3 separate regions of the Homo sapiens genome follow, and all the other regions are linked to region 3. Evidence: promoter capture Hi-C in 16 types of primary human blood cells and fetal thymus (Javierre and others, 2016). All regions are on one chromosome and are shown on one strand. Each heading gives the region's core, a stretch centred on a gene start or on the middle of the fragment in contact. The rest is flanking DNA. Distances are from core to core; before and after follow the strand shown.

The links. Contacts are between HindIII fragments. The CHiCAGO score rates a contact against its expected background, and 5 or more counts as called.
Region 1: a fragment that was not itself captured here is called in contact with the fragment with the promoter of GOLT1A in region 3 in 2 of 17 cell types (megakaryocytes and M2 macrophages); the score reaches 7.9 in megakaryocytes.
Region 2: a fragment that was not itself captured here is called in contact with the fragment with the promoter of GOLT1A in region 3 in 4 of 17 cell types (M0 macrophages, megakaryocytes, M2 macrophages and 1 more); the score reaches 6.7 in M0 macrophages.

What each region holds. Positions count from the first base shown.
Region 1 is chr1:204,405,275-204,407,974 of GRCh38, reverse strand. PPP1R15B (protein phosphatase 1 regulatory subunit 15B) reads left to right here. Exons shown (of 2, transcript NM_032833.5): 2 at 1,662-2,700. The coding sequence ends at 1,883. Among named protein-coding and RNA genes, the nearest start is that of PPP1R15B, 5.2 kb to the left of the region's middle. The HindIII fragment of the contact is 5,303 bases long and covers 1-2,700 here.
Region 2 is chr1:204,389,053-204,391,752 of GRCh38, reverse strand. No RefSeq gene overlaps it. Among named protein-coding and RNA genes, the nearest start is that of LINC00628, 21 kb to the right of the region's middle. The HindIII fragment of the contact is 8,300 bases long and covers 1-2,700 here.
Region 3 is chr1:204,212,629-204,215,328 of GRCh38, reverse strand. It overlaps GOLT1A (golgi transport 1A), which reads left to right and starts at 1,341. Exons shown (of 5, transcript NM_198447.2): 1 at 1,341-1,447. The coding sequence starts at 1,423. RefSeq lists an enhancer at 814-1,470. The HindIII fragment of the contact is 7,307 bases long and covers 972-2,700 here.

The DNA of each region.
Region 1 (2,700 bases), core at 174-2,673, 190 kb before region 3:
GAGTGGAGTAGATGATACTATTGACTATGAACTAGAAGCAGAATTTATAAATGATTATGTCTGAATATGATATAATTATTTGACAGCCTTTGACTACCTGCCATTGGTATATATGGGGAATGGTGTATGGAATATATGGAGTATATAGGATGATGGACAGTGAGTCTAAAAAACCCTTCTACCTCTGTTTTCTTATCGGTATAATGGGGATGATAATAGTCCATACCTCATAGGGTTAATGTGAGGATTAGATGAGATAAAAATGTAAAGCTCTTTAAAAAAAGCCTGGTATATGGTAAACACTGTACGTTTTTATTATTTATCTTAATGACACAATGAATGAGTAGTATTCAAGACTAGAATGCAATAACTAGTAAGGTGTTACATACCTGCTAATTGTCCTCAGGGGCATCCCTTGGCTTGATGTAAAGGGAACGAAAGTAGTAGGCCACATTGGGGTTAGCTGATGTAACTATTAAACATACTTGAAAGCAAGTATTTACTTTTGGAGTTTGATATCTTAGAAAGAAACTTCATTAGAAATTAAGTAGTGATTAGTAATGAGTAGGGATTGTCACTCATTACATGTCATTATGTATATTAGAATCACAATTTCATATATAGTGATAGCATATTGAATACAAAGGTTTTTAAAATCTTAACTACAAAGTTTCTTAGAGTAACACAGCTTTAAAAATACTAATTTTGCTATACTTTGTTTACTAAGTAACTTTTTCTCTTCTGTATTGTTATTGCCAAAGTAATGATACAAAAATAGTACAACATGTTGATTTAAAAGTTGGAAAGTGAAAAAAATTTTTAAAAGGAAAAAGAATAGAAGTAAGCAAAAATATTGTTAAAGCCTTTATGCAGTGATAAAAACAGTGACTTCCAGGGATATAGTGGTTATTTTCAGAAATATTTTGCTTGTCATTTTGAGGGAAAAATATCACAGAACTGTATTTCCCTAAGGATTAAAAAATAGCAGGGGTTAATAACAGCATGAAAAATTCAATTCCCTATCTGGATTCATTTTATTAACACCAAAAGCCAAGGGCTGGTGGGGGATTGGGGGGGGCAGACGACTGTGTGTGTATATTATGCAGATATAGATAAATGAAGTATATATAGATGAAAGATATATATCTCTATATGAAATATTTAGGTGACATTTGTTCACTATTTTATCCAAATGCCATCTAATCTGAACTTTTTTTTTTTTGAGACAGAGTTTTGCTCTTGTTGCACAGGCTAGAGTGTAGTGGCGCGATATTGGCTCACTGCAACCTCCACCTCCCAGGTTCAAACTGTTCTCCTACCTCAGCCTCCTGCGTAGCTGGGATTACAGGCATGTGCCACCACGCCTGGCTAATTTTTTCGTATTTTTACTAGAGACAGGGTTTCACTGTGTTGGTCAGGCTGGTCTTGAACTCCTGACCTCAGGTGATCCGCCTGCTTCCGCCTCCCAAAATGCTGGGATTACAGGCGTGACAGAACTTTTTTTTTAACTTCAAATATAGCTGGGACCAAATATTCCTAATAATAATATGTTATTCTTAGTTGGGAATATTCTGAAAGAATTGGTAGCATAAAGGGTTATTGACCTCAATGCTGATTGTAAGATCCTAGACAGTTATTAAAATTAGTCTTTGTTTTTGTAGGTAACCTTCCTTGAAGAAGTTACTGAGTATTATATAAGTGGTGATGAGGATCGCAAAGGACCATGGGAAGAATTTGCAAGGGATGGATGCAGGTTCCAGAAACGAATTCAAGAAACAGAAGATGCTATTGGATATTGCTTGACATTTGAACACAGAGAAAGAATGTTTAATAGACTCCAGGGAACATGCTTCAAAGGACTTAATGTTCTCAAGCAATGTTGAGTTGGCAGCCTGTAGTCCTAGCTAGCATACACTACCTCTTACCTGAGAGGTGTCTTTTAAAAACAAATCTTGGCAGCTGTCCTTTGACATTTTTTTTTTTAGAGGAAATGTAACTTGGATCTAGTTTAATTTTTTTTTTTGCAACATATCCCACTCAGAAACATTCAGGTTTGAAGCCAGCCCTGATAATGAAGGATGAACTAGTGTGATTTCTAATCCTCCCTTTTTTGATTTAGTTGGATGTGCTTTTAAATGTCCTTTGCCTGCATGAGGTGGAAAGGGGACCTTTTTGAGTTGTCATTTTGCACTTTCAAAACTTATTTTCTTGGAAAACAATATTTATAGGGCTTAAAGCCCATTTTCATTTCTAATCTAAATTATGTGTGCCTATCTGAAAACTTTGGGCTCTTTCTTGTTTCTTTCCCAAAATTCAGAAGTTAATGGGCTTTTATGTTTTTCTATATTTTTTTTATTTCAATGATTTGGCCTGTCTATGTTAGGCTAAAAAATAACCTTGTGTATGCTACCAACTTAAAGTGCATTATTTTGTGTCACTTTTTTTTTTCTTGTAAAAATGACTTGGATTGAAAATATGTGGTAGCCTTTTTATTTCTACATTAAGTTCTACCTAGGATATTTCCAAGGACTGCCACAAAACCCATATGTGCAGTACTTTACTACTTTGGGAAAGCTGCATCTTTCTACCACATTTTAACATCTAATATATTTAATTTCTTTGAAGAGGGTTCTGTGTACGTTATTGTAGTTCCCAGTTTAATATAGTTCTTTGTATCTCTTAACAGGTTGAAGTTATTGC
Region 2 (2,700 bases), core at 49-2,548, 180 kb before region 3:
TACCTTTTTTCTTATACAAAAGTTATAAACCTACAATATGTTGCTATTGTTTTTGCTTTAAAGAGTTCATCATCTTTTAAAGAGATTGAGAATTAGAAAACATCTTTATTTACCACTTGTTTACCATTTCTGCTGCTTTGTGTAGATCCAGTTTTCTATTAGATATTATTTTCCATCTGCCTGAAGAGCTTCTTGAACATTTCTTGTCATGTAACCTTGCTGCTGATGATTTATCTCAGATTTTGTCTGAAAAAGTCTTTACTTCTTCCCTCACTTTAGAAAAATATTTTTATTAGCTTTAGAATTCTAGGTTGATGGTTTTTCTTTCAGTACTTTAAGAACTGGGTGAGATAATGGAGTGACTTTTTTTAAGACAGGGTCTCCCTCTGTCACCCAGGCTGGAGGGCATTAGCACCATCATGGCTTACTACAACCTTGAACTCCTGGGCTCAAGCCGTCCTCCTGCCTCGTGTCCCTCCCAAAGTGCTAGGATTATAGGTGTGAGCCAGAGCACCTGGCCAAGTGACTTCTTTAAACTCTTCAAGTCCCTGATTTTGTGCTAGGCTCCTTAAAGTTAAGATGTTAGATGTAACACCTGTCTTCTCAAGTTAACTGTTTTGTTACCTTTTCTCAGTAACAAAGTCTGATATTGCTCTTGGGCTCACACCCATGTTTCCTGTCATTTTTTTTCCCTTGTCGGGTTACATATTGGCCTGTCAACTGCCTTTGACTCTGAGCCTAATATTACTTCCTCATGCTCCTGTGTTTCTCTATGCTCCTTACCAGCACACACATTCTCTTTTACGGTCTCCACCTGAGAGTAAGTTTGAGAGATTAGACCTCTCTGCTTCTTTCCTAGTGCTCTTTCCAGTGCTGTAAAGAGAACCTGGGCATTGGTCCAGACAGATTTGAGGTTGAATTCCAGCTTTCCATTTCCACCAGCTGTGTGCCCATAAGTAAATTATTTGAGTCTTAAGAGGCCATCTGTAAAATTTGAATAATAATATCTCTCAAAGTAGTTGGGAGGATTAAAGTAGGTAATATATGACAAGTTCTTACACCATATTTGTCTCATAATATCAAATACTCACATAGTATATATTATGATATATATCCCGATTTACAGATGAGGGACCTGAAGCATAGTAACCCACCCGAGTTACGTAACTAGGGAATGGCAGAGAACTAGGAGTGAAACCCAGTCTGGCTCCAGATCCCATGCCTCTAACTACAATGCTTCACTCCTTTTCTAGGTAAATGTTAATTCCTTCTTTTTGGATTAGATAGGGTTGGACTCTAACAAATGAGTACTCTTGACTGGGTGGATGTTGAGGGAATGGGGCAGTTAAAGGGTAGCAAGGCAAAGGATATTTCAAGTAGGAAAAATAGCTTTGGAGAAAAGGTAGAAATGGAAGGATATGGGAAACATGCTGGGGAAATGGCTAATAGGCTGATAAGTTTGGGTGGAGGTCCTGGGGGATAGAGAAGAATAGTGGGGGATAAAGTTCGTTATGTAGGGTCTAAATGATAGAGTACTTTGAATGCCATGCTAACAAAGTTGGTCTGTTTTATTCTACATAAAGTGACAAACCATTATGGGAGTGACATGGTCAGATGGGTTCTTTTGGAATAGCTCTTGGATCATTTGTGGATGGATTGAACTGAGGAGCAATTATAATAGATCAAGTAGGATGCTCTTGTTCAAATATAGGCCTGAGGTAATGAGCTCAACCAAAGGGATGGTTAGAGTGGAAAGGGGGAGCCATGGAGGTGTAATAGTTGGCAGGATTCAGTGGCTTGTTAGATGAAGGAGAAGGAGAAATCACAAAGGAGTCAGCTTTACTAGGCTTGGTGACAAGGAGGAAGGTGATGTTTTCATTGAGATAGGAAATTCTGAAAGGGGAGCAGCTTGGTGGAGGGAGATGTAAGAGTTCTGTTTCACATGAATAATTGGCCATTTGTAACACCTTATTCCCCTTTCTCATTTGTGGGAAGCAGTGAGATAGACCACCTAAGGGAAATTTTGTAGGACAGTCCTAAGGGAGGAGGAAAAGAAGAGAAGGGCTTAGGTAAAGACAGGTGGGATTCACAGACCAGAGGCATGTTCAAAGCAATTTCAGAGATGAAAATGGCATGGAGTTTTTGGGAGGTCCTGTGAGTAGACTGGATCGAAAGTTTGCTCCCACAAAACCCCTCAACCTCTCTTATCTATCCTTTTTCCCCAAGTCCTAGGTTGGCCAAGAAGCAGCCAATCCTGGCCGGGCGTGGTGGCTCACGCCTGTAATCCCAGCATTTTGGGAGGCCGAGGCGGGCGAATCAGGAGATCAGGAGTTCAAGACCAGCCTGACCAATATGGTGAAACTCCATCTCTGCTAAAAATACAAAAACTAGCTGGGTGTGGTGGTGTGTGCCTGTAATCCCAGCTACTCAGGAGGCCGAGGCAGGAGAATCGCTTGAACCTGGGAGGCAGGGGTTGCAGTGAGCCGAAATTGCACCACTGCACTCCAGCTCCAGCCTGGGCAACAGCCAGATTCTGTCTCAAAAAAAAAAAAAAAAAAAAAAAAAAAAAAGAAGCAGCCAATCCTTCAAGGAATGACAGAGGCTAAAGCCAGGTGCATATGGAGCTGAAGATTAAAGGGCCCTTCCTGGATCTTTTGGACTCCTCGGACCTCCTTATAACTGTAGAGGTTGTGGGGAGAG
Region 3 (2,700 bases), core at 92-2,591:
CTCTTAAATTCAAACATATATTATGTGTGGGTGCAAGCAATCTGCCTATTTCATTTATGTCTTCTGGTAAGTCTTGCCTGAACATTTATATATTGAAAGACATCATGTTTTATTATAATTTATCTTTTTGTTTCTTTTTAAAAAATTATGTTAGCTTTCCTTGGTTTTGTTGTTGTTGTTTGGTTTGTTTTTTTTTGAGACAGGATCTCGCTCTGCTACCCAGGCTGGAGTGCATGGCTTGATCACAGCTCATCGCAGCCTCGACCTTCTGGGCTCAAGCAATCCTCCTACCTTAGCCTCCCCAGTAGCTGGGACTACAGGCAGGTACCACCACATCCGGCTAATTTTTTATTTTTATTATTGTAGAGACAAGGTCTCACTATGTTGCTCAGGCTGGTCTCAAACTCCTGGGCTCAAGCAATCCTCCTGCCTTGGCCTCCCAAAATGCTGGGATTACAGACATAATGCATTTTGTATGCCAGGCCTATTTGCATTTTTAAATGATGTATATAGGTAGTCTTTGAAATTCATTTCTTCATTTCTGGACACAGAAGACATTGCAAAGTGGATGTTGGCTCTCCTGGCATCAATGCCACGTCAGAACCACTGCTCTGCGATGGGAAAAAAGGATGTTAGGAACTAACTGCCTCTCTTTTTGCAGGCCCAAAGGACGAATCCATGTCTACACAGCTGGTGGGTAGACTAGAACCAGGCCTCCTAAATTGTGCAGTCCTGCCCCAACCCCAAATTCAGGGCTTTGTCTTCCATAGCTCAACATCACAGTCAGTCCAAAGCTTGGACGCCGCTTGGGGAAAGGAGGTCGAAGACCTTCACGTCTAACTTCCCCCATGGCGCTTTTGCCATTGATTTAACCCGATCTGGCTCTGCCATTAGGTCAACAACAGGCTTTGTGCTCAGTCGCTCATCGCCTCCCAGCGCCTAGCATGTGCAATAGCAGAGAGCAAAAAGCTTGACTTTCAAGATGAATTTAGTACATTCCCAAAGGGATGCGCAGATGCCAACTCTTCCCACACTATCAAACCAAGCAAGAAACTTGAGCACCCCCTAGATTCCAATGCTTCCACATACAATCTAAGTTTCGCGGAGCAGACGAGAGCCGCAGAACACCGCGAGGTGCGAGGAAAGGGTCAGGTGGGCGGTGCCTTCCCCGGGCAGGCGCGGCAGGTGGAGGGGCGGGGCATTGCCCTACCGGAAAACGGGAGGAGGGAGCTGGCGAGTAGAAGCACCTGCGTGGTGTGCGGGGGTGGAGCGGGGGCTGGAGGGAGAGTTAATGATTTGCCACAGGCTCATTTCGCAACTTAACCAAGGGTCAGCTTCCCGTGACCATGTACCAGCTGCGTCCTCTGGGCCACGCTCCACTTGCCCGCTTCCACCCGGAAAGCCCCCCAGGCTGAGTGCGGCATGATCTCCATCACCGAATGGCAGAGTAAGTGGGATGAGCGGGGCTGCAATGGGCTATCCAGGCCAGGCTCCCTGCCGGCTGGCTCTCTCTCCCAGCTGGGCTCTCTGTCACTACAAGCGTGACCTCTGGAGCCAGGGGCTGGGAGATGCTGTGCTGGCACCCTGGGGCAGCAGGCAGGGTGGGGTGTGGCTCCCTACCCTCCAGCGGGTGGGAGTTGCTCAGGGCCCACAGGTAGCTAGAGGCTGGTGCCCAGGGGGCCTGGCAGGTTCCCCATTCACACTGACCCCTTTCCCATCCCGGGTTCTTAGAACTGGGTTGCCACAAAGGTGGACTCAGGAGGCCTCTGCCCATTCAGACATCTTTCCCCACACCATCAAGGTCTCCTGTGGCCCTGGGGGCTTCTTATAAAAAACTAAACTCCACTCCCCTGACCAAACCACCATACCCTCACTCCTAAACATCCTTCCCCTTCTTTTGGGGGAAGAGGTAGGGAGGAGGTCTTGGAACAAGTCTGGGGCCATGGGAAGAACCGTGGCTCTGTGGGCTTCATTTGGGTGAGTTACTTAAAGCCTCTGAGCCTTGGTTTTTCATCTGAGAATTGGTGACAACATTCTTTTGTTCACTCAACAGATTTGTCTCTGCTGTGTGCCAAGCACTGTGTTGGATATAGAGTGTCCAACATTAAATGAAACTGACTCCCTGCTTACATTCTAGAGAGGGGAGACAGGTAATTAACAGAAAGAAGTATATAGTATATCAGAAGATGATAAGTCCTCCAGATGAAAATAAAACAAGAGGAGGCTATGGAGTTCGAGGTAGGAGGGGTCGCTATTTTATATAGAGTGGTCAGGGAAGCCTCACTGAGAAGGTGAGCCTTTATTCAGATCTTTTTTCAGAGATCTATAGGAAGTGAGGAAGCAAAGCCACGCAGCTCTCTGGAGGGGAAATGTTCAGGAAGCAGGGACAGGCAGTGCAAAGGCCCTGAGGCATTAGCATACTTGGTGTGTTTGAAGAACAACAAGGAGGTGGGTATACCTGGAGCAAAGTGAGGTGAGGGGAGAATCATAGGAGTTTAGGTCAGGGATGTCACTGAGGGGTCAGGACACTGGAGACTTATAGACCATGGTAATGACCTTGGTTTTGTGCTATGGTGTGATATGTTCTATTTCTATGTTTAAAAGATCATTCTGGGTGCTGGGTTGAGAATAGACTGTGGAGGTATGAAGGCAGCAGCAGGGAAGCCAGTTCTTTTTTTTTTTTTTTTTTTTTGAGACAGA